Linked DNA regions of Homo sapiens: regions 1, 2, 3, 4, 5 and 7 are each linked to region 6. Evidence: promoter capture Hi-C in 16 types of primary human blood cells and fetal thymus (Javierre and others, 2016). All regions are on one chromosome and are shown on one strand. Each heading gives the region's core, a stretch centred on a gene start or on the middle of the fragment in contact. The rest is flanking DNA. Distances are from core to core; before and after follow the strand shown.

Evidence for each region. The method cuts DNA at HindIII sites, captures the fragments that hold promoters and counts their contacts. A CHiCAGO score of 5 or more calls a contact.
Region 1: a contact is called between a fragment that was not itself captured here and the fragment with the promoter of COL17A1 in region 6, in 11 of 17 cell types (activated CD4 T cells, naive B cells, naive CD8 T cells and 8 more). The highest score is 8.9, in activated CD4 T cells.
Region 2: a contact is called between a fragment that was not itself captured here and the fragment with the promoter of COL17A1 in region 6, in 1 of 17 cell types (naive CD8 T cells). The highest score is 5.8, in naive CD8 T cells.
Region 3: a fragment that was not itself captured here is called in contact with the fragment with the promoter of COL17A1 in region 6 in 3 of 17 cell types (naive CD8 T cells, total CD8 T cells and activated CD4 T cells); the score reaches 6.3 in naive CD8 T cells.
Region 4: a fragment that was not itself captured here is called in contact with the fragment with the promoter of COL17A1 in region 6 in 9 of 17 cell types (total CD8 T cells, activated CD4 T cells, naive CD8 T cells and 6 more); the score reaches 12.1 in total CD8 T cells.
Region 5: a fragment that was not itself captured here is called in contact with the fragment with the promoter of COL17A1 in region 6 in 2 of 17 cell types (total CD8 T cells and naive CD8 T cells); the score reaches 6.5 in total CD8 T cells.
Region 7: a fragment that was not itself captured here is called in contact with the fragment with the promoter of COL17A1 in region 6 in 9 of 17 cell types (M1 macrophages, naive CD4 T cells, naive CD8 T cells and 6 more); the score reaches 7.1 in M1 macrophages.

What each region holds. Positions count from the first base shown.
Region 1 is chr10:103,719,325-103,722,976 of GRCh38, reverse strand. All of the region lies in intron 5 of SH3PXD2A (SH3 and PX domains 2A), which reads left to right. Among named protein-coding and RNA genes, the nearest start is that of SH3PXD2A-AS1, 26 kb to the left of the region's middle. RefSeq lists an enhancer at 1-396. The HindIII fragment of the contact is 4,828 bases long and covers 1-3,652 here.
Region 2 is chr10:103,575,194-103,578,911 of GRCh38, reverse strand. The region is part of intron 3 of NEURL1 (neuralized E3 ubiquitin protein ligase 1); the gene reads right to left. Among named protein-coding and RNA genes, the nearest start is that of NEURL1-AS1, 60 kb to the right of the region's middle. The HindIII fragment of the contact is 799 bases long and covers 1,631-2,429 here.
Region 3 is chr10:103,683,250-103,687,149 of GRCh38, reverse strand. All of the region lies in intron 6 of SH3PXD2A (SH3 and PX domains 2A), which reads left to right. Among named protein-coding and RNA genes, the nearest start is that of SH3PXD2A-AS1, 62 kb to the left of the region's middle. RefSeq lists enhancers at 480-529, 3,160-3,229. The HindIII fragment of the contact is 1,892 bases long and covers 947-2,838 here.
Region 4 is chr10:103,702,906-103,707,090 of GRCh38, reverse strand. All of the region lies in intron 5 of SH3PXD2A (SH3 and PX domains 2A), which reads left to right. Among named protein-coding and RNA genes, the nearest start is that of SH3PXD2A-AS1, 42 kb to the left of the region's middle. The HindIII fragment of the contact is 3,864 bases long and covers 852-4,185 here.
Region 5 is chr10:103,753,931-103,757,763 of GRCh38, reverse strand. All of the region lies in intron 3 of SH3PXD2A (SH3 and PX domains 2A), which reads left to right. SH3PXD2A-AS1 (SH3PXD2A antisense RNA 1) reads right to left here. Exons shown (of 3, transcript NR_038940.1): 3 at 2,355-3,833. Among named protein-coding and RNA genes, the nearest start is that of SH3PXD2A-AS1, 9.1 kb to the right of the region's middle. RefSeq lists enhancers at 524-1,179, 1,180-1,837. The HindIII fragment of the contact is 3,542 bases long and covers 98-3,639 here.
Region 6 is chr10:104,084,395-104,088,558 of GRCh38, reverse strand. COL17A1 (collagen type XVII alpha 1 chain) reads left to right here and starts at 2,679. Exons shown (of 56, transcript NM_000494.4): 1 at 2,679-2,836. The HindIII fragment of the contact is 1,426 bases long and covers 2,511-3,936 here.
Region 7 is chr10:103,737,010-103,740,747 of GRCh38, reverse strand. All of the region lies in intron 3 of SH3PXD2A (SH3 and PX domains 2A), which reads left to right. Among named protein-coding and RNA genes, the nearest start is that of SH3PXD2A-AS1, 7.9 kb to the left of the region's middle. The HindIII fragment of the contact is 3,185 bases long and covers 450-3,634 here.

The sequences.
Region 1 (3,652 bases), core at 883-3,382, 370 kb after region 6:
AAAAGACTAATAGCCTGAAATAGCCTGGGCATTTCGAGGGAGGAAAAAGCAGCTCCGAGGCCCACCTGGCCTAGCAAAGACCATCTTCACTGATGGCTGCCTCAGGCAAGAAACAAGCACTGTGAACCATCAGGAGCTTATCAGTAGCTTGGTTCACAGCGTGAAGCAGTGGAAAGCCACAGGGTATAGGATGCAAAGTATTGAGTTCACGTCCCAGTTCTGCTGCTACTAGCTGTGTAATGTCCAGGCAGATCCCTCGTAACTTCCCCAAGCCTTCCTGTGGTCCCTAGTGGCTCAGTGCTGGCCGAAGTTTCTACATTTAGAGAGAAACAGGGATGAATCTTAAATTCAGCTGATTGAAAAAAAAAAAAAAAAAGCTAGGCATATTGGCTCACACCTGTAATCCCAGCACTTTGAGAAGCCAAGGCAGGTGGATCTCTTGAGCCCAAGAGTTCAAGACCAGTCCTGGCAACACAGTGAGACCTTGTCTCTACAAAAAATTAAAATTTAAAATGTAAAATTTCAGAAGAAAGAATAGCGAGAAATAGGGAACCATCTGTAAAAAGGGAATAGTGATTAAGCCCTGTTTTTGCTACCTCCAAGGGTTATCCATGAAACTCAGATGATGAGAGGTTTGCACCAGGGCTTGTATATTCTTTTTTTTTTTTTTTTTGAGACAGAGTCTCGCTCTGTCACCCAGGCTGGAGTGCAGTGGAGCAATCTCGGTTCACTGCAACTTTTGGCTCCCAGGTTCAAGCAATTCCCTTACCTCAGCCTCCCTGGTAGCTGGGATTACAGGCACATGCTACCATACCTGGCTAATTTTTGTATTTTTAGTAGAGACGGGGTTTCACCATGTTGGCGAGGTTGGTCTCGAACTCCTGAGTTCAAGTGGATCCACCCGCCTCAGCCTCCTAAAGTGCTGGGATTATAGGCATAAGCAACTGCGCCCGGCCAGGGCTTGTATATTCTTATCCCCACATTACAGATTACAAAACAGGAGCTCACAGCTAGAGCGGGAATTTGAACCCAGAACTTCCAGGTTGCAAGCAGAAGCCCACATTCATCTGTTTCTCCCACCTGCTTCACTGGTTTGGGGACTGTGGTCCTGAAGCTCCTCAGGATCTCCTTTCTGTCCCCACCTGTCTGCGCTCCTGCCCCTTCCTTCTTCATCCTTGCCTTGCCTCAGGGCAAGGGAAGGCTCTGAGCCTGGCAGCAGTATCCCTGGGTCCTCACCTGACCCGCCCTTGCCCAGCTGTGATGTTCTCTCCAAGCCTCTCATTTTCTGTCCTTGCATGGGGAGAGAGGAGATGCTCCTCCCTACGTGGGTGGCTGTTGGGATCCCCCGTGATCGTGTGCCTGGCCACGGGGGAAAAGGATCAGGATCGTTGATGGTGGAGGCAGCAGGTGTATCGCCACAAAAGCAGCTGACCCAGCCTGTGATCCATGCCTCCAAACCTGCTCTTTGCCAGTCAGCTGAATCCGTCGGCCTCACTTCATTCATGGCATTAAGTTAGCCTTTTGCCCACCTCTAGGAGGCCCTTGAGGAACAGTGGAAACCAGGCTCAGCAAGACACTTGGCTGTTGGGGAGGCAGCAGGCCATGGCTTTGTGGGGCCAGGCTCTGGGGCCAGGCCCTGCCACTTAAGGCTCAGTGATCTTTGGCCATTTGCTCAATGTCTCTGCATTTCTGTTCCCCTAAAATGAGATAATGCAGAACTCACGAGCTGGTCAAGAGGGTTTACTCAAATAACCCGGCCAGGTGCTACTGGTGCACAGGAAGTGCTCCACACCTGTGTTCATGGAAGGCTGGGGAACAGAATGGAATGTGTGCACGTTCCGTCCCTACCTGACTTTTGCAGGGAGGGGCTGTGAAGCATTTGGCCGCTCCATCACCAGGCCAGCAGGGGTTATCTGCCTCTTTCTTGAGGTGGTATTGGCCACGTGGGCCAGTTCACCACTGGTCTGGCAAGTTATGGGCCTGGGAATAGGAATGCCTCCAGCCCCAAGACAGGTCTGAGGCTCAGGAAGTGAGCTCAGCTGTGGCCAGGCAGTTCTGAGGGGCTCCCCCTCCCCGGGCCCGGCCCTGTCTCTGCTCCGCCTCCAGGACCCACCAAGAGAGACCTGTGTTCCCCTGCAGAGTGTGCCTGCCACAAAAGAGCCAGAGCTTGTCCATGACCCTCGGCTGACAGGCTGCCGACGTGTCAGCCTAGTGCCTGCACCTCCTCCCTCTCCGGCTGTTTGGACCTTTCCAGGCGACTGTGCACCTCCCTTCCCTCCAGCCTAGAACATAAACACGGGATCGAGTAACAGCATATTTTGACTCTGGGGCGACTGTGGAGTGGCTTATCAAATTATCAAAGCCTGTGGATTTAATTGGAATTTTGTAGATAACCCCTGGCTTCTTTCAAGTGTGCTGCTGCAGGGTCCATTGAGAATTCATGGGGGCTGGGGTGGGGGACCGTCTTCCCTTTCCATCTTCCAGAGAAGACAAGGTCTGTCACAGCCCAGACTCAGTGGGGGAGGTGGGCAGCAGGCCTGAGCGCCTCGGCTTTGATCCCAGGCCACTCGCTGGCTTCTGCAGGCGGAGAGCCAGACCCATCTCCGGTCAGTTAGTGGTTGCTCTTCCAGACCACTGGCCCTGCACAGAAAGGATGTTCTTCATGGACACCTTTGATGAGCCTGGCACAGAGCAGCCATGGTGGTTTTGCCTCCTCACACGGAAGGATAATGGGATTTGCGCCCTTATGAAAGAGGCTCCAGCAAGGCCCTTGCCCCTTCCATCATGTGAGGACACAGCATTTGCCCCTTCTGCCATGGCAGGACACAGCTAGAGTGCGCCATCTGTGGGGAACCAGCCTTCACCAGACACCAAATCTGCTGACACCTTGATCTTGGACTTTACAGCCTCCAGAACTGTGAGCAATAAATTTCTGTTTTTAAGAAATTACCTAGTGTGGCCGGGCACGGTGGCTCACGCCTGTAATCCCAGCACTTTGGGAGCCCAAGGCGGGTGGATCACCTGAGGTCAGGACTTTGAAATCAGCCTGGCCAACATGGCAAAACCCCATTTCTGCTAAAAATACAAAAATTAGCCAGGCGTGGTGGCACGTGCCTGTAATCCCAGCTACTTGGGAGGCTGAGACAGGAGAATTGCTTGAACCCAGAAGGTGGAGGTTGCAGTGAGCCGAGATCGCACCACTGCACTCCAGCTGGGTGACAGAGCAAGACTCCATCTCAAAAAAAAAAAAAAAAAGAAAGAAAAAAAAAAAGAAAAAGAAATTACCTAGTGTAAGAAGGTACTCTGTTATAACAGCCTGAACAGACTAAGACGCTTGCTGTGTTTATTGTTGGCCCCTCCCACTAGAACACAGGCTCCAGGAGAGTATGAACTTGTCTTTGTTCTGTTCACAGCTGTATCCCCAGCACCCAGAACAGTGCATGTCCCAGAGCAGGGTCTCAGAGGGTCTCTGTTGGATGAATGATTGTTGTCATTCAGCCCTCACTATGGTCTTACATGGTAAGTACGACTGTGACATGATTTTACCAAGGAGCTGAAGGCTCAGGGACATGAAGCCACTCACCTGAAGTCACCCAACTGGCAGGTGCAGGGCCAAGATCCAAGCCAGGCTGGCTGGCCCCAGACCTACGGT
Region 2 (3,718 bases), core at 781-3,280, 510 kb after region 6:
TGCCAGCCCTTTACTGTCTCCACAAACATCCTCCTGCTGGTCCGCATCTGGCACGGGGCATGGGAGGGAGCCGGGAAGTGCGGGTGCCTGGCTTAGACAGGCAAGGGGGTTCTCCACCCCTCCCAGCACCCACCTCCACCCTCTCCCTTTAAACCCAACCATGGGAAATTTAGGAGAAACAAACATGCTTTCTGGGGCTCACAGAGGGAAGGGCAGAACATCCTAAAATCACTCACAGTCACAGACTTTAAGATTCAGAGAATCTTCAAGCCACGGGATCTCATAGATTTATAGAATCATCTGGTCTAGTGGGTCTCAAACTTTTTTAAAAAGCAGTGGAATCCTTTTGTCCAACAGAACCCCAAGTTCTGGCTGAAGTCTAGGAGGTGGACCTAGCACCTATCCCCTCACCCTCTCTCTGGCCTTCTCTGCAGCCTCCAAGACACCTCTGTGGAACCCCAGTGTTCCAAGGAACCCAGCTGGAGAAGCACAGATCTTGTTCCAAGGAGCAATTTCGATTGCATGGTTTTCCTTTCAGCCCGATACAGAGACCTGGGTTCAAGGCTCCCTCTTCTAGTTGAAGAGCTGGTTTGAGGGGTTGGCTTTTTTGGCCGTGGAGGGCGGTGTCTTTAAATTAGGTATTCCTTTTTAACCTAAAGACAAAAGCCCTTCTCATTTGTGTAAATGCCTTTCCACATCTGTGAGGTAAGTGGGGTGTGTATAATTATGCCCAAATAATGAGGAGGCTGAAGCACAGAGAAGCTGAGAACTGCCCAGAGCTAATGAGTGGCCAAGTCAAGCCTTGATTCAGTGGGTCTCCTGCATCTTAAATGAAGGCATTGTCCCCAATACTGCAAGGCCCGAGCTCCTCCCTCCACATACACCCCACCCTGAGCCCCACCACTCTCTCCAAGGCCCCAGTACAATCTCTTGGGCCCAAGAGATGCTAGGGGCAAACATGAGATTGCCTTTCTTGTAAGTTAAAAACAGTCCAATACTGGTGATTACATATGGTTCAACTTGATATATATTCATTGTGGTAGAAAACTAGAGTGCACAGGAATAACTGAACCAGACAAAGCCCTCGGGAGCCTCCGGGGAACTATAAGGCAGGCAGACCGACCTTCCCCACTGAATCTGGCATCCTGGGCGCTGCACTGCCCCTCTTCCTTGTACCAGCACTGCTGGGGCCCTGGTGGCCTATCTGTGCCCAACATGTGCAGTTGATCCTTGATGCCTTGAGCTCTTGTAAGCTCGACTCTGGAAGGCACAGGAGGGCCACTGTCCCCGCTCTTGTCGGGTATCCAGACCTAATAGGGAGATCAGATGGACTCACATCTAGAGAAGCTGGAAGGTAATGTAGCCCAAGCTCCTGGGTTCAAATCCCAGCTCCACCAACTGCCAGCTGTGTGACCTTGGGCAGGTTATCAGACCTCTCTCAGCCTCTGTTCCTTATCTACAAAATGGGCACAATAATACCTTCCTTTATATACAAAGAGGATATATGCTGGATCTTTAAAGAGCAGGACAATACATGACTCAAAGCTGCTTATACCACTTAGGTCTCCAAGTGCTTCCGATGGTCAGGAGGAGGAAGGGTCATTTTGAATGAGGGAGGTCTGGGAAAGCTTCCTAATGGAGGGGAGGGTTTGGTGTGGGGCACTGATATAGCTGGCAGAATTTGGGGTAAGCAGAAAGGAAGCACCAGAAAACCCTCTGAAGCAGAAGGAAAAGCAAGATTTTTTTCTTAATCAAAAAGAAATGAAAATCATCAAAGAGGAAGAAATCATGATCGGCAGCCTCAGCTGTTTCCCCCAGCCCAACAGCTGGCTCAGGCTCCTTAAACTAATATTTGCCTCTTGGCCCCTAGCAGCCACAGCTGAGGGTAAATATTGGTTTAGCCTGGGAAGCAGAAGGCCCAGATGGCAGTGTGGTCCTCGGCTGGGGATCACTCATGCTCAGCACCTCCAAGCTGAGGCACACCCTGGATAGGGGACCTGACCTAGGCCCCTATCTCCAGGGGGCCTGGAGAACCCACCCAGCAGCACATGACCCTTGGAAGCCCATCCTGAGAGTCTCCATACAGCTCTCTCCTCAGTAGGCAGGCGTGGGTCTTTTACCAAGACCTGGGAACCTGTGCATGGCAAGGGATGGAATAGAATGCATAAGCCCTCGGGAGCCCCCACCTCATCCCCTCCTAGAACCCTCCCGGACCCAGCCCCACCATTTAGATGTGTTGATAGCCTCCTCCCTCTGACCTTACTCCCAGATCAGCCTGAGAGATCTGGGTTCCAGGCCTGGCCTGGCTGATGAGCAGCTGGGAGAGTTTGGGCAGGCCTCTCCCCATCTCTGGGTCTCATACTTCTCCACTGTCAACCAGCCAGTCCCTCTTACTGAACAACTTGACAGCACAAAAGCTGCTGGAAGCTTTCAGCTCTCATGGCTCTCTCCCCTGTGATGCATACACATACCCACACCTGTGCACACCCCTCACCTCCACAAGTCACCCACTACCTTTCTACCTCATTCCTTCCCCTCCTGGATCTGCTCCCCTACTGACCGCCAATTCCCCACCTCTGCACCTGTGGACACCCCCCTGTCTGACCTAAATTGTTCCTCAACCAATCCATTCTTTTCACCTCACTTAGTTCCTGACTTAAAACTTGTCTCCTACAGGAAGTCCTCCTGGATTGCTCTCTAGCTGCACTCCCCTCCCACACATACACACAGTTTTACTCTTCAGGTCACACTTGATTGCAGAATTGAACTTGGGCCACCTTGCATCAGTTATATGATGTGTCCCCCAGGGAAAACATTATTCCAGGAGAGGGGCTGGGTTTTTGATTCTTCTGTCTCCCACCTGCCCCCGCTTAGTGCCTAGGCAGTGGTAGGCACCAAGGGATGCTCTGGAGCACCCTGTAAGTGGGCTCTTGGCCCGCCAGCCAAGTCCTGCTGGGACTCACAGCTGCTCTTCCTGAATTGACATTTCTGAGAGGAGCAAGGAGACCTTGAGATACTGGGATAGGAGCTTCTTTTTCCATGTATTAATCACCCCATAAAACCTGTGTTTATTTAGTTGCTGGCGGGTCCTTCTCCCTGGAGGAAGGAAGCTGTTATTCTTGACGATACCAGCCTGGGCTTGGGCCAGGGCGCCCCAAAGAAAGAGGTGATCTGCAGAACTCCAGCATAACAGGGAGGAGGGCCTGCTGGGGCTGTGGCATGGGCACCATAACAGGGAGGAGGGCCTGCTGGGGCCATGGCATGGGCACCATTGTGGGCTTGGATTCTGGCCAGGGCAGGGAGGACCGTCCACTGGGGAGAGACACCAGCCCCTGCCTCCACTCTGTCTGGGGACACAACCCATCCATGGCCTGACCTGCTTACCTACTATGTGCCAGCTACCCTGGGAAGCCTCTGGTCTAAGGAACAAACACAGAGCAGGTAAGATTGGGAGGGCTTTGACCACAGGCTTCAGACAAAGGGGGCAGGGGCAGGCCTGGCAGAAAATCCCCAAAGATCAGACATTGGTTTGGGGGACAGTCACCCCAGGAAAGACTGGCCCAGCCTCAGAGCCACCAAGATGGACAGCGACTTTCTTCAGAAGAGAGACAGCAGCGGGGAGAAGGACACCAAGACCAGGGAAAGCAAGAAGGGTGAGAGGATCTAGGTCAAGGGAGAGAGAAAAGCCCAGAAAGATACAGGTGCAGTAAAGGTGCAG
Region 3 (3,900 bases), core at 643-3,142, 400 kb after region 6:
CCTTTCAGCTACTGACTCAGGCCCACCCAGAGTGTTTTAGATAATTTCCCTTACTTAAAGTCATCCGGTCATGGTCTTTAATAACTATAAAAATACATTCCCAACCAGGCGCAGTGGCTCATGCCTGTAATCCCAGCACTTTGGGAGACCGAGGCAGGTGGATCACCTGAGGTCAGGAGTTTGAGACCAGCCTGGCCAACATGGCAAAACCCCGTCTCTACTAAAAATACAAAAAATTAGCTGGACGTGGTGGCGGGTGCTTGTAATCCCAGCTACTGAGGAGGCTGAGGCAGGGAGAATCTTGAACCCAGGAGGTGGAGGTTGCAGTGAGCCGAGATCATGCCATTGCACTCCAGCTTGGGCAACAGAGCGAGGCTCTGTCTCAAAAAAAAAAAAAAAAAAAATTCCCCAGCAACACCTAAATTAGTGTGTGATTGCATAACTGGGGACAGTAGCTTAGCCAGGTTGATGTGTACCACCTGACCATCATACCTGTCAAATGGGGTTGTTATAGTAGCAGCGACCTGGCTTGCCCCAAAGTGCACAGGGTTCAAGGAGGTGATGCCCTTTGAGGGGTTTTGTGCTGTGCCTGGCAGTAGGAAGGGCCTGTTGTTGTTAGCTGTTGTTGCTTCCCCAAGGTGGGCACTGCTCCAGGAGCCCCAGTGGGGCTGGAGCAGACTCCCCAGAGCAAGGGGTTCTCTTGAGACCTGCAAAGATCTCATGCCTCTCACCCAGTTCTCTAAAAAGCTGCATTTCGCCAGGGCACCTAGCCGGGAAGTTCTGAGATGCGCCACTAGGGGGCACAGGTGGCCACGGAGCCTCGGGATTGTCAGGGCCCTGGGGCTGTTGTCAGGAGAGCCTGAGGGTTCATCCAACCCAGGAGTCCTGTGGAAGCTCCAGCTCGTTTACATGCAGATGAGGTTGCTCAAGAGTGTTGTTACAAGCTTGTTCTCTTAGGCAAGTGTTGATGTTCCTCATGAAATCCTGTTTACTTTATTCTTCTCCTTGGAAAAGTGGTGAGCTCAGCCCCACTTCTATCTCAGTGATCATAAAACTGTATTATTAGCTGAGTTCATGAGATCAGCATTAATGTAGTTTCACTGCAGAGAAGCAGTGTTGCCTGGGGTTGACAGTTTAGGTTTTGGCAACAGGAAGACAGGGTTTGAACCCCAGCTCTGCCATTTGTTATTGCCGTTTTAATTATTGATAGATTAAGAAAGAAGGGGAGAAGTTGGTCTTTGAGTTGAGACATTTATTTCCATTCTGTGAGACCCAGGAGGGGACGACAGGGCGTAGACTCAGCCATTGCTGAGTATTCCGTTGAGTTAAAAACGTGGACTCTGGAGCCAGAATGCTTAGTTTCATGTCCCGGCTCTGCCTGCTGTGTGATCTTGGGCAAGTCCTTCTCTATGGCTCATTTCTTCACCTGTAAAATAGGGATAATCAGGTTTTTTTCATGGGGTTGAGGATTGAGTGAAAGTTCCTGAAGTGATAACTCCAGCACCGTGCCTGGCCTAGAGGAAGCACTAAGGGTGAAGCAGCTTTTACTATGAATAGGAGGCAGCACCGGAGGGGTTCGTCTCAAACAGGAGAGAGCGCTGGTTTCAGCTTTTGCCCTTTCTCCGGAGTGACTCCTCAATCAGACAGGGGGAAGGTGGGGTGTCCACTATCTCATCATTGCCAGGAGCCTCCCTGCAACAACCAGGGTAGGTGGTCTTGTCCCATTTTATAGACCAGGAAAGGGAAGTTAAGGAACTTGCCCCAGGTCAGCCAGACACAGGATTCTCTTTTTTTTTTTTTTTTTTTTTTTTTGAGACAGAGTTTTGCTGTTTGCCTGGGCTGGAGTGCAGTGGCACAATCTCAGCTCACTGCAACCTCCACCTCCTGGGTTCAAGTGATTCTCCTGCCTCAGCCTCCCAAGTAGATGGAATTATAGGCGTCCGCCACCATGCCCAGCTAATTTTTTGTATTTTTAGTAGAGATGGGATTTCACCATGTTGGCTAGGCTGGTCTTGAACTCCTGACCCCAGGTGATCCACCCACCTTGGCCTCCCAAAGTGCTGGGATTACAGGTGTGAACCACCATGACTGGCCTTTTTTTTGTTTTTGTTTTTGTTTTTGCTTTTTTGAGACAGGGCCCCAGGCTCTGTCGTTCAGACTGGAGTGTGGTGGCACAACCACAGCTCACTGCAGACTTGACCTCCTGGCTTCAAGCAATCCTCTCACCTCAGCCTTCTGAGTAGTTGGGACTACAGACATGCACCACCACGTCCAGTTAGTTTTTGTAGAGACAGGGTCTCGCTATGTTGCCCAGGGTGGTCTTGAACTCCTAGGATCAAGTGACTATCCTGCCTCGGCCTCCCAAAGTGCTGGGATTACAGGTGTGAACCGCAGCACACAGCCTAATTTTCCTTTTTATGAGTTTGGTTTTTAATAAAGTGAATTTGCTTAGAGCAAGACCCGCCCATAAGTTCTGGCCACTATTAAGGGTTAGTCTATGGCCGGGCGTGGTGGCTCGCTCCTGTAATCCTAGCACTTTGGAAGACCGAGGCAGTTGGATCTCCTGAGATCAGGAGTTCAAGACCGACATGATGAAACCTCGTCTCTACTAAAAATACGAAAAATTAGCCGGATGTGGTGGCCCGCACCTGTAATCCCAGCTACTCGGGAGGCTGAGGCAGGAGAATCACTTGAACCCAGGGGGCGGAGTTTGCAGTGAGCCAAGATGGTGCCACTGCACTCCAGCCTGGGTGACAGAGTGAGATTCCGTCTCAAAAAAAAAAAGGGTTAGTCTACCTGAAAAAGTTCCTCTATTCTCCTCCTTTTATAGAGGAAGCTTTTAAGAGAGGGATGGCCACTTGCCCAGGGTATGGGGTGGGCAGAACCTGGTCTTCTGCTGGTCAGCACTCCCACCAAGCCCTGGAACCAGGTGGAAGTGTGAGGAGGGCTGTCAGGTGGAAGTGTGAGGAGGGCTGTCCTGAAGCACAGGAAGCCGGTCTGTGAGGTCTCTGGTACCTCCCTTCCCCGCAAGGTAAATACCTCAGCAGGGCACTAGCAGAGCTGGGCTCTCTGGCCCTCCCTGGGCCTGCCCTGCCCAACCAGCAGCAGAGGGAGATGGAGGGAGACGAGGCAGTGGCAGCAGGCCTCCTCCCTCCAGAGCGCAGGCTTTGTGAGGCTTTCACTTCTCTTAATAGTTTGTTGGCTCCTGGCCCCATGGAGTGCACAGCTCAACTGAGAAGGTGGGACCTTTTCAGGGATTCATTAATACTAGGCAGGATGGCTTGGGATCTGCAAGGTGGAAGGAGGGGTGGCTGGCCATTGTGGGAGAGGCTGGAGATGGCCCTGAAGGACAGAGGAGATTGTGATGGGCTGAAGGGTGTGGGTAGGGCACCCTGCAGGAGGGACAGCCAGGCATGAGTAAGGATGTGGAGCTGGAATGAGTTTTTGCTTTTTTGTTGTTGTTGTGGGTTTTTCTGGTGTTAATTTTTAACATGGGGTCTTACTTAATGGCCCAGGCTGGAGTGCAGTGGTGCGATCAGGGCTCACTGTGGCCTTAAATTCCTGGGCTCAAGCGATCTTCCCACCTCATCCTCCCAAGTAGGTGGAACCACTGGTGTGCCACCATGCCTGGCTTATTTATTTATGTAGGAGACAGTCTTGCTCTGTCACCCAGGCTAGAGTGCAGTAGCCCAATCTCGATTTACTGCAACCTCCGCTTCTCAGCTCTCGTGCCTCAGCCTCCCAAGTAGCTGGGACTACAGGCACCCGCCACCATGCCTGGCTAATTTTTTTGTATTTTAGTAGAGATGGGGTTTCTCTGTGTTGCCCAGGGTCGTCTTGAACTCCTGAGCTCAGGCAGTCCACCCGCCTCAGCCTCCCAGAATGCTAGGATTACAGGTG
Region 4 (4,185 bases), core at 1,534-4,033, 380 kb after region 6:
GGAGGCCATAGACACTGTAGTCCAACTGCCAGAGGAGAGAGACACACGTGAGGCAATAGTGCAGGACATTAGCAAGAGCATCCAGGCTCCACTGTGATGCCAGGGTGGTTTCCATGACAACCAAGGTGATGTCACAGAGGACGGAGCACAGGAGGCCGCGGGCTGCTGCCATTCCGTCCTCATAAATAGGCAGGAAATGTACTGTCTGCACTTGCTGACCCATCTGTGACAATCAGGGATGACCTCCTGGAGGAAGTGGCACTTCCACTGAGCTCTACTCGGGGGGGAAAGGAGGGGAGAGCAGAGATGCAGGGTCTGCCTATCCTGCCAGGCAGGGATTGAGAACAGGTGGAGGATGCTCGGGATGGTGTTAGCAGCGTCTGACCAGCCTCTTGAGACCATCCGGCAGCCCTGAGCTTGGTTACTGGTTGTCAGGGAATTCGTGCATTTATTCAGGAAACACGATTATAACCAGCCCTGTGCTGGGCCTGGCAAGACACACACAGTTCCTGCTCTCAGGGAGCCTACTGTTGAGGGGAAGAAATAGACAACAAACAAGGCAATGGCAAAAATATAAAGGCAATGGTGACAGCCACACAGGAAAATAATCCAGTGCTCTGCTAGAACAAGGTTTGGGGGGGTGCCAGAAAGTGTATTAGGCTGGGAGCTGGGGCCCAGGACAGCATTGGTCCGGCATCACTGCCCCCAGAACTTAAAAAACCTCTGCTGAGAGGAGGCTGTAAAACCAGCCCTGGTGAGGCCAGGCCATCCTCAGGCTCCTCCAGTCCAGCCACTGACCCACTGAGCAGCCACACCAGCGGCAGAACCACCAGGAGGCAGCCCAGGAAGCTTGACAGCTGCAGGTGCTCTAGAGGGGATGCTCCATCACCATCGGAAACCACAGTGCATCTCTTGAGCATGTGGTCATGGACGCTGTGACACTGTGACCCACTGTGCGGGTCACCAGCCAGGTTTCTTCCTGTTGGACATTCTCATGCCAGCCCTGAAGTTGTGACCTCCCTAAGGAAGAGTCTAGAACTCAGTGATGTCATTTGGGTATTTCTTTCTTTCTTTTTTTTTTTTTTTCTTTTTGAGACAGAGTCTTGCTCTGTCACCCAGGCTGGAGTGCAGTGGCACGATCTTGGCTCTCACTGCAACCTCCACCTCCCAGGTTCAAGCGATTCTCCTGCCTCAGCCTCCTGAGTAGCTGGGATTACTGGTGCACACCACCACACCCAGCTAATTTTTGTATTTTTAGTAGACAGGGTTTCACCATGTTGGCCAGGCTGGTCATTTGGGTATTTCTGACCCTGAGTCTTTGCCTTCGTTTTACCTTTCTCTTCACCACCTACTCCTCATTTAGCTTTTCTGTCTGGATTTTATGTGTCCTTCTTAGCCACAAGGTGGTAAATGAACAGTGTGGTGGTTAGGATTTGAGCACTAGACTGAGCCAGGTTGGCCTCCAATCCCATCTGTATCCCTCACAAGCTGTGTTACTTTGGGCAAGTCACATGCTCTCTCTGATCCTCCATTTCTCATCTGTAAAATGGGGATAGTAAGGGACTCTGCCACACAGGCATGTAGTGAGGATAAAATGAGCTGATGTGTGTCAAGGGTTTAGTTTAGCACCTGGCATAATGTAAATGCTTGACAAATGTAGTGCTCTTGTCAATAATAGTATTAATAATAATAAGAGCAGCACTACCACTCCCACCTTTGGGTAAGAAGAGCTCACTCACGGTGGGGAGAACTGCTCAGTGGTGACTCCCACCAAGGCCTGGCCCACGCCCGCCCTTCCCTCCCCCTGTTTGCCACCATACTTTGGGGTTCATGGGCACAAGCCTGCTCCGGGACCTCGGGGGCTTTACCTTGGTGTAGAAGCTCAGGAGAGGTTGCTTGGTGGAGGATGGAGGTGGCGGCCCACGGCTGGCCTGCTGGGACCTGTAGTGGACAGGCTGGTGAGCAGGCAGGGCCCTCACTGTAGTTGCAGCTGAGCTGGCCCAGGAGCATTCAGGGTTGACAGGAAGGCAGCTGGAGAAGGCTGGGAGCATGGAGGTATTACCTAGGTATTACCTAGGGTTCCTGGATGGCCCCCCTGCTACAAGCAGGACACAGGCTTGTCCTGTGAGCCTGGAGCTGGAGGCCTCTTTGCAAAAGCCCAATCAGGGAAACTAAGGCACAGAGAGGGCTGCCACCACCCAGGTCATGCTGCCTGCTCAGACAGCCAGGCCTGGAACCCATGTCTCGGGCCTCACAGGCTGGGATGGCCCTGGTTTGGCATCTTACAGGACTCCTCCCTAGACCCCGTCCTTTACATGTATGCTCTGGCAGACCCTGGGGAAGCCCCCAGGCCGCCCTGCACCCAGGCTAGCCCAGGAGCCACCCATCCCTGGGCACACAGGCCCTTGGCCAGGAGCCCGTTTGTCCTGCGTTTTGAGTGCCTGCTGTGAGGAGCATGGCAGCCACTGCCCTCTGTGGAACAGGCTCATTAAGTCAGCCTCTTGGTCCAGCATCGAGGGGGATCCAGACTTGGCTGTCACTCCTGTCGCCTCTGGGGAGACCCGTCAGCCTGGCAGCAGCAAGGGATTCTGGGGGAATGTGAAAGTGATAACAGTCATTCAGATGGACCTGGAAGTCCCCAGCTCTGCCACCCCCAGTGCTGCCAGCCACCAGCCACCAGTGTGGTCTCAGCAAAGTGGCTTTACCCTGCAGAGCCTGGGTTTCTTCATCTCTGTACAGACACCCCAAGCCTTGCTCCCCCCTCCCCCTGAGGCCAGCCAGGCCCGTGTCCCTGCTTCTTCCCATGCTGCTCCTCCTCCAGTGGCCACCGCCCCCACCTTCCTGGCTCCTTCTCTCAGTGCCCTCCTTTGGCCAAGCCCATTCTGTCCCAGGTGGTTCTGTCATTTCCCCTGCAAGTCACAGCTCTTCCAGAGTCCCTCCCTCTCCCCTCTCGAGGGTGAACCAGTGCTGGCAGCAGGGCCCTGTGACTGGCAGGTGGAGCTGGAGCAGGTGGAGGATCTGTGTATGCGCTCCCTGTTACTGAGCCTGACTGTGCACGGGGGACTTTATGTGTATTAACTTGTTTATCCCCCAGCAATCCAATTAGGTGGATCATTTCAGTCTCTGCACTTTATAAATGAAGACAGAGACCCTAAATAATCTGTCTGGCAGAGCTGGGATTTGAACCTAGGCAGCTACACACACACAGAGAGACACATACACACACATGCACACACGCACCATGGGAGCCAAGCAAACCTTCTGGCCATACCATGTCAGAGTCTGGACTGTACTGTCCAATAAAGTAGCCAGTAGCCACGGTGGCTCTTTAAATCTAAGTCTTAATTAAACAAAATGAAAAATTCAGTGTTTGAGTCATACTGGTCACAATTCAGTGTTTGAGTGCTCAGCGCCACTGTGGCCAGTGGTACCATACTGGACAGGACAGATAGAGACTATTTCCATTACCCCGGAGAATTCTACTGGACAGCTCCTTTGAGGGCACCACTGTTGGGGACAGAATTGGAACATTCAGTGCTATTGGGGGTCAAAATCAGAGTGGGCTTTCTGGAGGAGGTGCCCCTTCCTTAGGCCTTGAAAGTTGTGAAACACTAGGCAGGGCAGGAGGGGGCCTGTGGTGGTTGCAGCACAGACAACCGAGTCTGCAGCCTTGCCTCCCATTGCAAGCTGTGTGACACCAGGCAAGTGACTTAAGCTGACTGAGGTGCATCTGTAAAATGGGGCTAACGCAGCTGCCTCTGTTGGGCTGGGCACATCTGGCTGCTTGGTGCTTGTGGGTTTGTCACATGGTGTCTAGGAAAGTCTGGGAGGTTCAGGTTCCTTCACTGTAAGAGGCGATCACCCGGGCCTCCCAGGGCCATGCAGGTGGGCTAGGTGTGTGGGAGGAGTGTGGGGCCCTCCGAGTCCTCTTTCCCACAGAGGCCAAGGCAGAAACAAGCACAGCCTGACTTTGGGTGGGCTCCTTGGCCTCCATGGGAAATAGGGAGCTCCTTGGCCCAAGCTCCCAGTCTCAGGTCGAAACTAGGCCAGGGCTGGGGAGTTAGGGGCCATCAGCCAAGGATCGACCCAAGAGGTCTGTGCTCTGCAGTGGGGCCCTGGTATCTGCCCGTGTGTCACACACACCCATACACACACGTGACACAGAGACCAGGCACATGTCTGCAG
Region 5 (3,833 bases), core at 619-3,118, 330 kb after region 6:
GTGGGGATCCGGCCTCTGATCACATGGCAGTGTCACTGTCACTACCTTCCAGACTCCGAGCTGCAGACCCTCCAGGTCTTGCAGGGAGTAACAAGCTTTGCAGGGGTCAGCCACGCAAGGGGCTTTTTTACTTTTGAAATGTAGATCAGTCTCCCAAGCCCTTCCCCCGCGACATCCCCACATTCCAAGACCAGGAAAAGAGCCAGGCCACCTTGTTACAACTTGGTATGTGCCTTCCCAATCATTCTAGAAGGGAATCAGCTCCTGAACACCTACCCCCAACCCTCCGTCCTGGATGGATTGTATCCTAGGTATCTTCCCCAGGAACTTTCTGATCTGGGCCGAAAAGCCTGTCTCTTCTCATGGTCTCAGTCAGTCTGTGTCATCTAAGACGCAGAAAATGCACCCGGGCCTGGGTCTCCAGAGTCCTGGATTCTAGTGCACCCCATGCTAATCACCATGGCACAAAATTGAAGAAGTTAAGTTTGAGCAATCAGGGATCACCTTGCTTGTTGGCAAAGTCACCAGAAAGTGACAGGCATGATTTCAGGGCTCGGTGACACTCCTGTCCTTTACCCTCCACTCCCTCCCCCTGGAAATACATCCTTTCCTTACCTGATGCCTAAATGTCCTTTTACAAGGTTGGATCCTTTCCCTCCATGCTGAGAGAGTACAGTTATACCCTGGTGTCCCCAGGGTTGGTGCTTCCAGCCAACTCATACTCCAGCGTAGATGGCAGACTGGATGGTTACTGAGACCAGGGTTGATAGAGGTGAGAGGGCAAGTGGGCAGCTGAGGCTAGAGACAGAAGAAGGTGCTAGGCCTCAAAGGCCTGTGTGGAGTCTGGAGAAGGGGCTGGCGGGAGCTTGCACGGAGCAGAGGAGACCAGCTGGGGTCCTGGAGAGGCAGGTGAGAGGGCAAAGGTGACTTGGCCTAGGCTGGGCCCTGGGTGGAGGGAAGTAGACTGAGGTCTGTCTTAGAAGGACAGCCAAGAGGCCATGCTGATGGATTGGAGGTGGTGGGGTGGGGTCGAGGATGACTGCCCATAGCTCTGTCTGGGCAGCCCTGGCCAAGATGGCAGAAGGAGTGTTTCACCTCACCACCACTCCCCACTCCTGCCTGTGGGCTGCATCCGTGGGGGTGAAGGGAAAGGACTTCCTCCCTCCTCCCTGAGGTGGCCGAAGCCTTTGGAGCATATGAAAGGTGCTTTGTGGTGGGCAGCCTCCCTCCCCAGGAGCCTCTGGGCACTGGGCACTCTGGTTTCTGGGTCCAGGTTTCACTGAGGGCTCGGGAGTGGCAGCAGCGGGTGATGGTGGTGGAGGGGAACACTGAGGCGCATTGAGAAGGAGCTCCGGCCCCCAACAACTTCTTAGGAGGTGAGGGGCACTGGAAGAGATAAACTCCCACAGTGTCCCTGGCCTAATCCCGCACACTGCCCTCCTGGGTCACTCCAACTGGACCCAGGCCCAAGGACAAAGCCCCAAGCCAGAGCTCTTCTCTGGCAGGGACTGAGCTGGCTCTAGGCATCACCTGTGTGAACTGATGTATCATTCATCCAGGGCTGCCTGGCACCCAGCAGATCCATCGTTCTGGGCGCTGAAAATACCTCCTCCCCCTTCACCTCCACAGTTCCCAGGACTGATGTCCACTGAGGAGGCCCCAGGATGCCAGGCTGCCCAGCCTCCAGACCACAGTTGGCCCCAGGGGACTGGCATGGCCTGAAGATGGAGCCCGTTCATCTGAATGTACCTTCAAAAGGGAAGGGAGGAGGCAAATGTGGAGGGTGGGGGTTGGCTGGCAGCCTCGCCTTTCTCTACCTGTCAGGGACAGGGTGGCCTGGCGACACCCCTGCAGGCTTCAACTGTCAAGATCGAAGCTCGTGTGAAGGAAAGGGGCTAGGTTTATGTTTCTCCCCAGGCCCAAACAGGAGAAGCCAGATTTCGCCTTAGTGAGGACACATTTGGGTGGATCTCAGAGAGAACTTCCAGGGACAGGAAGAACTTCTCAGCGGGTAGGGGGTGGTTCTGAGCAATGACTTTGGGCTCCTGCAGATCTGGTTCATACCTGGGCTTTCTACTTAGTGCTACTTGCCTGAACCAAAACTCTGCTATTTTCCGTGGCTGAGATGGGTAGCTATCGTACTTCCACACTGGAGGACTTACAGCCAGACAAACCTGGGGTTCAAATCCCAACTCAGCAGGCTCGGCATGCTGTCTCACATCTGTAGTCCCAGCTACTCAGGGGGCAGAGGCAGGAGGATTGCTCAAGCTCAAGAGTTCGAGACCAGTCTGGGCAACATAGTGAGACCCTGTTTCAAAAAATAAAAATTAAAAGAAATCCCAACTCAGCCTCTTCATAGTTGTGTGACTCTGGGCCAGTTTTAATCAGTTTAATTCTGAAGCTCCATCATAATCCCCATCTCTGAAATCCCTTCAGGGTTATTGAGAGCATCAAATGAAATGTCATCTGAAAAGCACAAAGTAAGCCCTCAGCACACGATTGTGATTTGGTAATTTTTAGTATCAGGTCCCTAACAAAATTGTGAGCTGTCTCTGGGATGGTTTGAATGCAGCCTCCTAGAATCCCTTCCAAGAGTGAGGTCTCTTCTCAGGAGTGCGGTCCCACAGCCTTGTGTGTTTTAAGGATTGCTGTTCAAAATGTGGTCCTCAGATCAGCAGTGTGGCCATCATCTGGGAGCTTGTTGGAAATGCAGACACTTGGCCTCCCCCAAGATCTGTAAGTCACCGTCTGCATTTTAACATGCACAGGTGATTTGTGTGCACCATAAAGTTGGAGAAGCAATGTTTGAAGGTCCATCAGAGCCCTTCTACAGGAGGTCTACTGTGTCTTTAGGGCTCTCTTGGTGCTTGGTTACGTTCAGTTCATTCACATAATACAAACAACTGAGCCTGCAATGAATCCATTTCTGACTCAAAGTAGAGGTGCATGGGGAGACAAGGATTTACAGGGGTAACTTGGTGAGGGCTGGTTTCTTGGCCTCACATCCTTACATACACCTGAGCTGCCTGCCTGTTTCTGGTATTCTGTGGGAGGGAGTCGTGAGTAACAGCCCTCTCTCCCCATCACTAGCCCAACCAGGAGGATGCTCAGGTCCCAACCACACGCCCTCATCAGATATAGATCAGAACATTCTCTCTCCCCTCCCTTCCAAGATGGGGTGAAGTTTTGGGCCAAGGAGATTGCTAAGATTTTTATTTTAGAAGTTCCCTGATTGGAGATGGGCAAGACTGGCTCATGAACTCTCTGTGGTTTTGAAGATAGGGTGGCATGAGAACGTCTAAAGCCTATGTCTGGAGTTACGTCGTACTGTTAGGATGGAAAACAGGCTCTTGTAAGATGTCTCTGGAAAAAGTTAAGTCAACAAAATAAAGTGAAGCCAAGCATGGTGGCACACTCCTGTACCAGCTACTCGGGAGGCTGAGGTGTGAGGATCACTTGAGCCCAGGAGTTTGGGGTTACAGCGAGCTATGATCATGCCACTGCACTCCATCCTGGGTGGCAGAGTGCGACCCTGTCTCTAAACAAAATTGGTTTTAATTTCAAAAAAGAAAAAAAAGTGAAATTTGAAAGGAGCATATTTTGCTCTTCTATATAAAATAACCATTGCAGACCTAAGCTTCAAAGTAAAGGAGCCAGGGAGGAGAGTTGAGATGAGTGAGTGACTGGTAATTTGGTGGCCAGGTAATTCTTCTCTGATTGGCACAGTTTTTACTCCTGGCCTCTTGTTTCTGATCTGAAAGACGAATTAACCAGTTTAATAGTTGGTAGTTGGTGAAGATGGCTTAAGTGAGACCTATGTGGTCTTGTTACCA
Region 6 (4,164 bases), core at 1,430-3,929:
TAACATTTGCCACATAACCCAAAACATGACCCTCCACAGCCTGTGAGGCCCTGTGTGATCTAGTCCTGCCTCCCTTGCCAGCCTCTCGCCCGCTGCCTGCCTCCCTTCACTTGATGCTTTTGAGCAAATTGGCCTCATCACTCTTCCCCCAACTCACCGTGCAGCTTCCACCTGAGAGCCTTCTCAGAGACTCTTGCCCCATCTAGATAGTAGAACACTCTCCACCCTGCCCTTCACCTGTGTGATCTCTTTTCAACCTTCATGTATCACTTATATAGCAGGACTTTTCCTAACACCCCTCTCCAAGATTATGTCTCTTCTTACGCTCTCACAGTAGCCAGTACTCTTTCTTTCTGATCTTGCTCTGTCACCCAGGCTAGAGTGCACTGGCGCCATTATAGCTTACTGTAACCTTGAACTGCTAGGCTCATGCAATCCTCCTTTCTCAACCACCCGAGTAACTGGGACTGCAGGTACATGCCATCATACTCAGCTATTTTTTTTTTTTTAGTAGAGACAAGGTCTTGCTATGCTGCCCAGGCTTGTCTTGAACTCCTGGCCTCAAGTCAGTATGCTTTCTTTATAATAGTTATCATATTCTTGCAGTTGCTCTTATAATATATATATATATATAATCTGCAATTATATATTGTACGTAACTGTTATAGGCTGAATAATGTCCCTCCAAAATTCATATGTGAAGCCCTAGCCATTAGTACCTCAGTGAATTTATTTGAAGATAGGGTCTTTAAAGAAGTAGTTAAATTTAAGTAAAAAAGGAGCCCATCAGGGTGGACTCTAATTCAATCTGACTGTGTCCTTTAAGAAGAGGAGATGAGGACACACAGAGAGAGACATCAGGGATGTGCATGCACAGAGAAAGGCCATGTGAGGATACTGCAAGAAGGCGGCCATCTGCAAGCCAAGGAGAGGGGGGTCTCAGGAGAAATCAAACCTCCTGACACATTGATCTTGAACTTCTGGCCCACAGAACTGTGAAAAAATAAATTTGTGTTGTTTAAGCCACCCAGTCCGTCGTATTTTGTTATGGGAACCCTCACCGACTAATACATTATGTAAGGCCTGTCTTCCTCCATTAGACTGTGAACTCCATAAGCAGAGGGACTATGTTCATATTTCACCACCAAACTCTTAGCACATAGTTTAATGTCTGGCTCCAAGCAGGAGCCAATATATTTTTGTTTAATTCTTGAATTCATGAATAAAGAAATAAATGATGCAGGGGCATGTCTATTTTATGCTGAAAGCTCTGTGTGTTCTGGGTTCTTCAGTGTTCTTCTACTATGAAACTGACGGAAGACATATTGAGTATTTATTTGGGGAAGGCAAGAACATCCTACAAAGCAAGTGTCAAATTCTGCATAATTGAAAGGGTTCTGAAATGCACGACTCCAGTGTGGAATATGGGCAGCTTAGGAGCAAGAGCCCCACAGCTGTTGTTGTGGTCTGCTACCCTTCCATGGGATGCAGTGCCCACAATAGCAAGGTGCAGTTGCACATCGGTGCTATGCTGTAAGGGCCCCACTGCTCCCCTCCAGTATCTTAGGATAATGCCTCAGAACTGGGAATCCCAGTGTGATGCTGGGTCCCAGGAATGTGCTATGGCCTCAAAGGACTGCCTGAGTGAGTTCCAGGTTCAGACTTCCCATTTTACCAACACCAAGTGTCTCAAGCTAGTCTTTAGGCCCCCTGGGAAGCCAGATGCTATCCAGGTATTCATAAGAATTATCCTGATTGATGCAAGTTGACCCTCTAGGGAAATCTAAAGGTCCCCAGGATGTACTTGGAGTTGCAGGACATCTGGGAGCCCACACATGTCTTTAGGTGTATGGAGACTATGCGGTCACCTGATTTGAAGGACAAGAAGGTCCTTATCCCTTCCCAACAGCACCTCTCTCCATTATTAGGTGGCTAAATGCCTAAAATTCCATCACTAACATGTCACTCTTTTAGGTCAGCATCACTATATCTGGTTGCCTCTTTTGTAAAACGAACCCCTACCCCACCAATTGCTCAGTACATTCAGTCATTAGCATATTATGAATTAGTTCACCAACTATTTTCTCCAGATGGGCTTGACCTGGCTTGAGTCACAAGAGGGGAAAGAGGACAAAGACATCTATAGGGGAAACAAGACAAAGGACACAGGACACAGGAACAGAGGACGAAGACATCTATAGGGGAAACAGATCTTGAATATAAATCCTGCCAACTTCAGTTTTTCTAGGGCTCAGGCAGTATGACCACAGGCCATCCATGTGCCTAGACCATGCTCATCCATGAGCCCATCCACGTGCCTAGACTCATGAATCATGCAGTGGGATTCCAGTACCCATGGCACTGAGGAAGGGTACTGCCACAAAGTTGTGGCAGTTCTCCAGCTGTAGAAGGTAGGCAATAAAAAAGCATTTCCTTTATGCTGGTCCTTTGTTTCCTTTTCCCCATGGGCCTTATAAATAGTTAATCTACCTAAGCTGGAAGGAGAAGCTTTCTGCCTCCAGTAAAGTTTGATTCCTGGAGGCAGATTTTTTTTTTAAATCCAGCAAGTGTCAGATAATTGGAAGGGTGGAGTAACGCTGTAAACCATGACACACCTTTGTCAGGACATGTTTGGAAGCAAAGAGTTGAAAGAAACAAGGTGGAGAGAAAGAAAAGTGAACATTTTTGAAAGATCACTCAGCTTTAACACACCTTGGCTGGGTCTGGATAAAAAAAAAGTGAGCACTGCAAATTTCTAGAAGAAAACATCAGGAGAAGAAAGAGAGAGGGGGATTTATTCAAAGTTGTTTCCAATTCCTTCAAAACCTCAAACCAGGTAAGTAAACAGGAAGACTGACCTTTCTCCTTTTCTCTGAGACTTTGATTTAAGGTTTGCCATTTAGAAATTAAATGTTTATTGGAGAAAAGAAGATGAAGTTCTGTAGTTTCTAGCATTCTGGTTAAAGTGATCAATTGGTTATAAAAGATGACTTTGGTGTATGCATTCTGCTTAGGGTAGGTCTTTCAAAGGAAATAAGTGGGGAAAAGGAGAAGGCTGAAGGCTGGTTAAAATATAGCGGGCTTTAGAGGCAAGACCTTTCTGCATTGTTTTCAGCATTGTAAAATGACTTGTGTTGTTTTATTTAGAATATGATACGGGCTTATAATTCCTTCTCTCCCAATCTCAGTTTCCTCTCTCGCTATCTTGCTCTCCTCTTCCCTCTGTCTCTCTCTCCACTGGACGAAGAGAACAACTCAGGGGTGAAGTTAAAGTATAGGTAAGGGGGCCTTCTAGAAACAGTCCCTGTGCTGACTGGGCCTCTCTGATTAAGCCATACATGGTAAACATTGCTGTTTACCATGCTGTAAAATTACCTCTAATCTAAAGAAAAGTAGGATCTTTGAAATGATCTGATTAATTCAGAAATTTTGCAGGATCAAACTTAGAGGAATAAAAAAAGGAAGAAAATTGTTTCCCGTATATATACTCTTACGAGTCAACTTGGGTTTCCTCCTGCCAAAAAAATTCACTTTGAGATGAGAATTACCAGTTTAGATACCTAAGTGGATGACGTTAACTGGTAACTGACAAATTATCACTTTACTTTTTGAAGTGGAGGCAAAACCTCTGGCACATTCCTTCTTTTGAGAAGTAGTTAATCAGTAGTCTAATAGTGGACTTGTAAAACGTAGCAAGATTTTTAAAAGGTATTTATTTGAAAAGCAGAATAGTTTCTTCTTACCTCCATATGTTCTCTCTTAGAGCTAAGGCACAGATCTGTCAGAACTAACCTAAGACAGATGTCTATCCCCACACAGACTCACTCCAGAGATTCAGAGGTGTCCTGCTTTACTCTTAGGCCCTGCAAAACACCCACATGAGTCTGATCAGAGTTTACACAGGAACAATTAAAGTGAACAGCTCTGCTTCAAGCTTGCATAGAAACTTACCAGCCTGGGTAACATGGCAAAACCCTGACTCTACAAAAAATACAAAATTAGCCAAGCATAGTGGTGTGCGTAGTGGTGCACACTCATATTATACTAACCCCATCTCTACTAAAAATACAAAAATACAAAAATTAGCTGGGTGTGGCGGTGCATGCCTGTAACCCCAGCTACTTGTGAGGCTGAGGCAGGAGAATTGCTTGAACCCAGGAGGCA
Region 7 (3,738 bases), core at 793-3,292, 350 kb after region 6:
GGGAAAAAGGAGTTGTACATGCATGCATAGACACTGTGAGTGTGAAGAGGAGAGGCTGCCAGGAATAGATCAGCCTGCTCAGACCAGAAGAGGTCCCGAGGCCAGCCCTCTCTTACGGCTCCTATAATCAGTGCCCTCTTATTACCTCTACAAATGGGTCCTAGTTCATGGAGGTAGCTACCAAACTCTTCATGGCTGGTGTGGGGACCCTGGCCAGTGGTACTGTGTCTGGTGATTCTACTTGAGGCCCCAGGCCCTGGCTCTCATGGGAGTCCATCCCATAGGTACCGCTTTCCCAAGAAGAGCCCTGGAGGCTGTGGTTGGTTTGGGGGTTTAACTGTTCTCATCTCCCTTCACATGCAGAATAAAATCCAAAGTCCTCACGGTGGCTCTCAAGGCTTGACATGATCCAAGTGCAAAGATCATGGCTCCCCCACACTCTCTAAGCTTTAAAACCCCAGGTTGAAATCCCAGCTCAGCCACTAGATAGCTGTGTGACTTTGGACAGGTCCTTCAACCTTTCTGAGCTGCCATCTCCTCTAGGACAAAATGGGCCTGGTTAAAGTACTTGCTTCAAGGTTGTTGCGAGGATGAAGGGAGGGAATTCAGTGAAAAGCTCTTAGTGTGCACCAGGTGTGTGCTGAGCGCTTAGCTACCATTAACCCTTTCCTCCTTCCTCCTCTGCCCACTAACGTCCCCACTGTCAATCAATCTTAGGGCTTCCAGAGGTAGCAGCCATAGAGCCCAGGCCTCCGATGAGCACACAGCAGTCCCAGTGGAGAAGGGACCTGTTTCAGGGTCACACAGCCAGCCTGTGGCCCAGGTAGGACTTGAACCCCAGACTCCCACCGGAGGCCCCCACTCCTTCGCTGGTCTCACCCCAGCCCAGCCCAGAGTGGCAGGAAGAAGGACCTCCAGTTACTGCTTAGACGTCGCAGCTGCACAGCTTCTTCTCCGCTTTCAGGACTGAGTTAATCCTGATGAGTTAGGTCTGTCTCATGCCCCGTGCAATCTTCCTTGCGATGCTCATCAGATTCCTAGGGCGGCATCTGGATGGCTTTGAAGACTCTGGCAGAAGCTGAGCCCTGCCGTCAACGGGCTGCACTATATTTACAAGAGGCCTTTAATGCCCTGTGGTCCCGGCTTCCTTCATGGGGATTTTCCTCCCCCTCCTTTTTCTCTCCCCCTTTTTATACGGTCACCGGTTTGGCTTTCAGAGTGTGGTTTGGATTCCTAACAGAGAAGTCAAGACCGGAGAATCCCTTCCAGGCCCTCCCTCTCTCCCTCCCTCTCTCCCCCACTGGCCAATTGTGCCAAAGCCCTGGGAAAAGAAAACGTTGCTCCTGTCAGGATTTCAGCGGGAAAGGGGGAAGCCCCATTGGGCTTCCAAAAACTCAGCTGGGAATTGGCTTGTGCAGAAATTCTCCTCTGACCTTGCAAGTGAGCAGCAGATCCAGGAGCCTGGTGGGGAGGACTGGGCAGCCCCAGGCACAGTGGCCCGGTGGCCTCACTCAGAGTGCAGACTGGAGGGCAGGGCGGGGTCCTGTGCTTGGGGCCAGCATGGGGAGGAGTCAGGAGCACCCTCTCATCTACCTCCCCACCCCAACCTATCCCTCCCTTCTCTGGATCTCCTACACCTGTGGAGGCCTCAGTGCTCCTTAACTAGTTTTTAAAATGAGTTCTTCCCAGCACTTTGGGAGGCCAAGGTGGGCGGATCATCTGAGGTCAGGAGTTCGTGACCAGCCTGACCAACATGGAGAAACCCCACTCTACTAAAAATGCAAAATCAGCCGGGTGTGGTGGCACATGCCTGTAATCCCAGCTACTCGGGAGGCTGAAGTAGGAGAATTGCTTGAACCCGGGAGGCAGAGGCTGCAGTGAGCTGAGATCATGCCATTGCACTCCAGCCTGGACAACAAAAGTGAAACTCCGTCTCGGGAAAAAAAAAAAAAGAGAGTTCTGTCTGCAACTAGGACAGGAATGATCTAAGCCTCAGCCAGAGCTTTGGCTAACCTTGAGATTGGGGGCTGGGAGAGGGACCCCATTTATCTTCCCATCTCCCTGCTTTCTTTTTTGTCCCCCAACAGGATGAGAAAGGGCGGGAGTGCATTTTTGGAGGCTGAGGCCCTGCTCCATGCAGGTTTGTGGGCCCTCCCCCACCCTCCTGTGGTCCCCCTGGGTTTCCTCTGTATCTCAGACAGTCCTTCAGGGTCCTGCTCATACGGCTGGACCGCTGGTGTCACTGGGTCTGGGCATCCCTCAGCTTCTGACAAACAACTGCCTTCATTAGAAAGGCCCAGAATTCCAGCCCCAGGGCCACCCATCTTCTTGGCAGTCCTGAGCTCAGGTCACCTCATGTTTTTATTTTTACACAGCCTCCCCCTGGCCTCACACATGTAGCCTGTGGCATGTGAGCAATCAAGCGACAGGCAACCAAAAAAGGGTAGGAGGCAAAGAGGCAAGGAATACCGAATCTGTGACATCTTCCCCCAAGGAACAGCGGCGTCGCCAGTGTCTGGATAAATCACGTTTTATCTCCTTTCGAGAGGGACGCAGGGCAGAGCCGCTTCATCTTGGTGATGTCGTCTGTCTGCACAGTGTTGTCCATCTGACAGGGAGATGGCCCGGCCCTCTGGCTTCAGAGAAAAGATGATGAAGGAGAGCTTGAGCAAGAGTCCAGGAGAGGAACAAGAATGACCCAGCAAGCACTCATTGAGCATCTGCTGAATGCAAAGCCTAGTGCTCCATGTAGTGTGGGGGCAGACAGGAGGGGTGAGCTGCAGAGCCATCATGGAGAGATGAGAGATATCCACGGGAAGCAGGTCACATGCAATAGGATGCAGTTACACGTTCCACTGTCTGACTTCAGCAGGGCTGGCGACCAATGCTTGTGGTGGCAGGGAAGTCAGGGGTGGCTGCAGCTGGGGTTTTCATGGCCCCTGGGTCCCCTGTCTGTTCACTTCTGCCTACCAAAGGCTGCTCACTGGAGCCACTAGGGCCTTCTACCTCAGGGCTTTGTCTAGCCATGGGCACACACTCAGCCAGATGTGCTGGAGTTAACGCCCTCAGAGGCAGTCCTCAGTGACAAACAGGGAGTTGGTGGGTAGATCCCCAGCCTCCACATGTCAGGTACATTCTCTGTCATCTCCTGGAGCCCCCCAGCAGAATTGAGCTCTAGTTGCCCACCATGATTAACTGGCCTGATAACACTTCCTTCCCCTCCCTGCCCTTACTGTCCCACTCCCCTAATGATATTTCTTGGGATCGCCTCCAAAACAAGTCAAATCCTTGTTTCTGGGGCTGTGTCTGGGGGAATAATCTAAATCAAGGCAATGGCTTTTCTGAGTACTTCACTCGGACCTTGACAGAAGCAGCTGGTGTGGATTCATATGCAGTCTACCTGTCTGCTCACATGCAATGGAAATGATCTAAATTGGGTGTCCTTTAATTCAAGTTATGAAAACCCATCTTCAACTCATTTAAATGAAAAAGAAAATGGTATTGTTTTATGCAACTGAAAAGTACCAGGTGGACCCTGGTTTAGGAACAGCTACCGACATCCAGCTGCTGAAATGATGTCAAAGGGCTCTGTCTCTCCCTCTCTCCACTTGGCTTTTCAATCACTCAAGAAGCTTTTACCAAGCACCTGTCTTGTGCTAGCCACCCTTCCTTTCTCTCATTCCGTTTGCTTCCCAGGCCACTAGAGGTGCCAGGCTTTCATCCTGCCAGCTTAGCAAC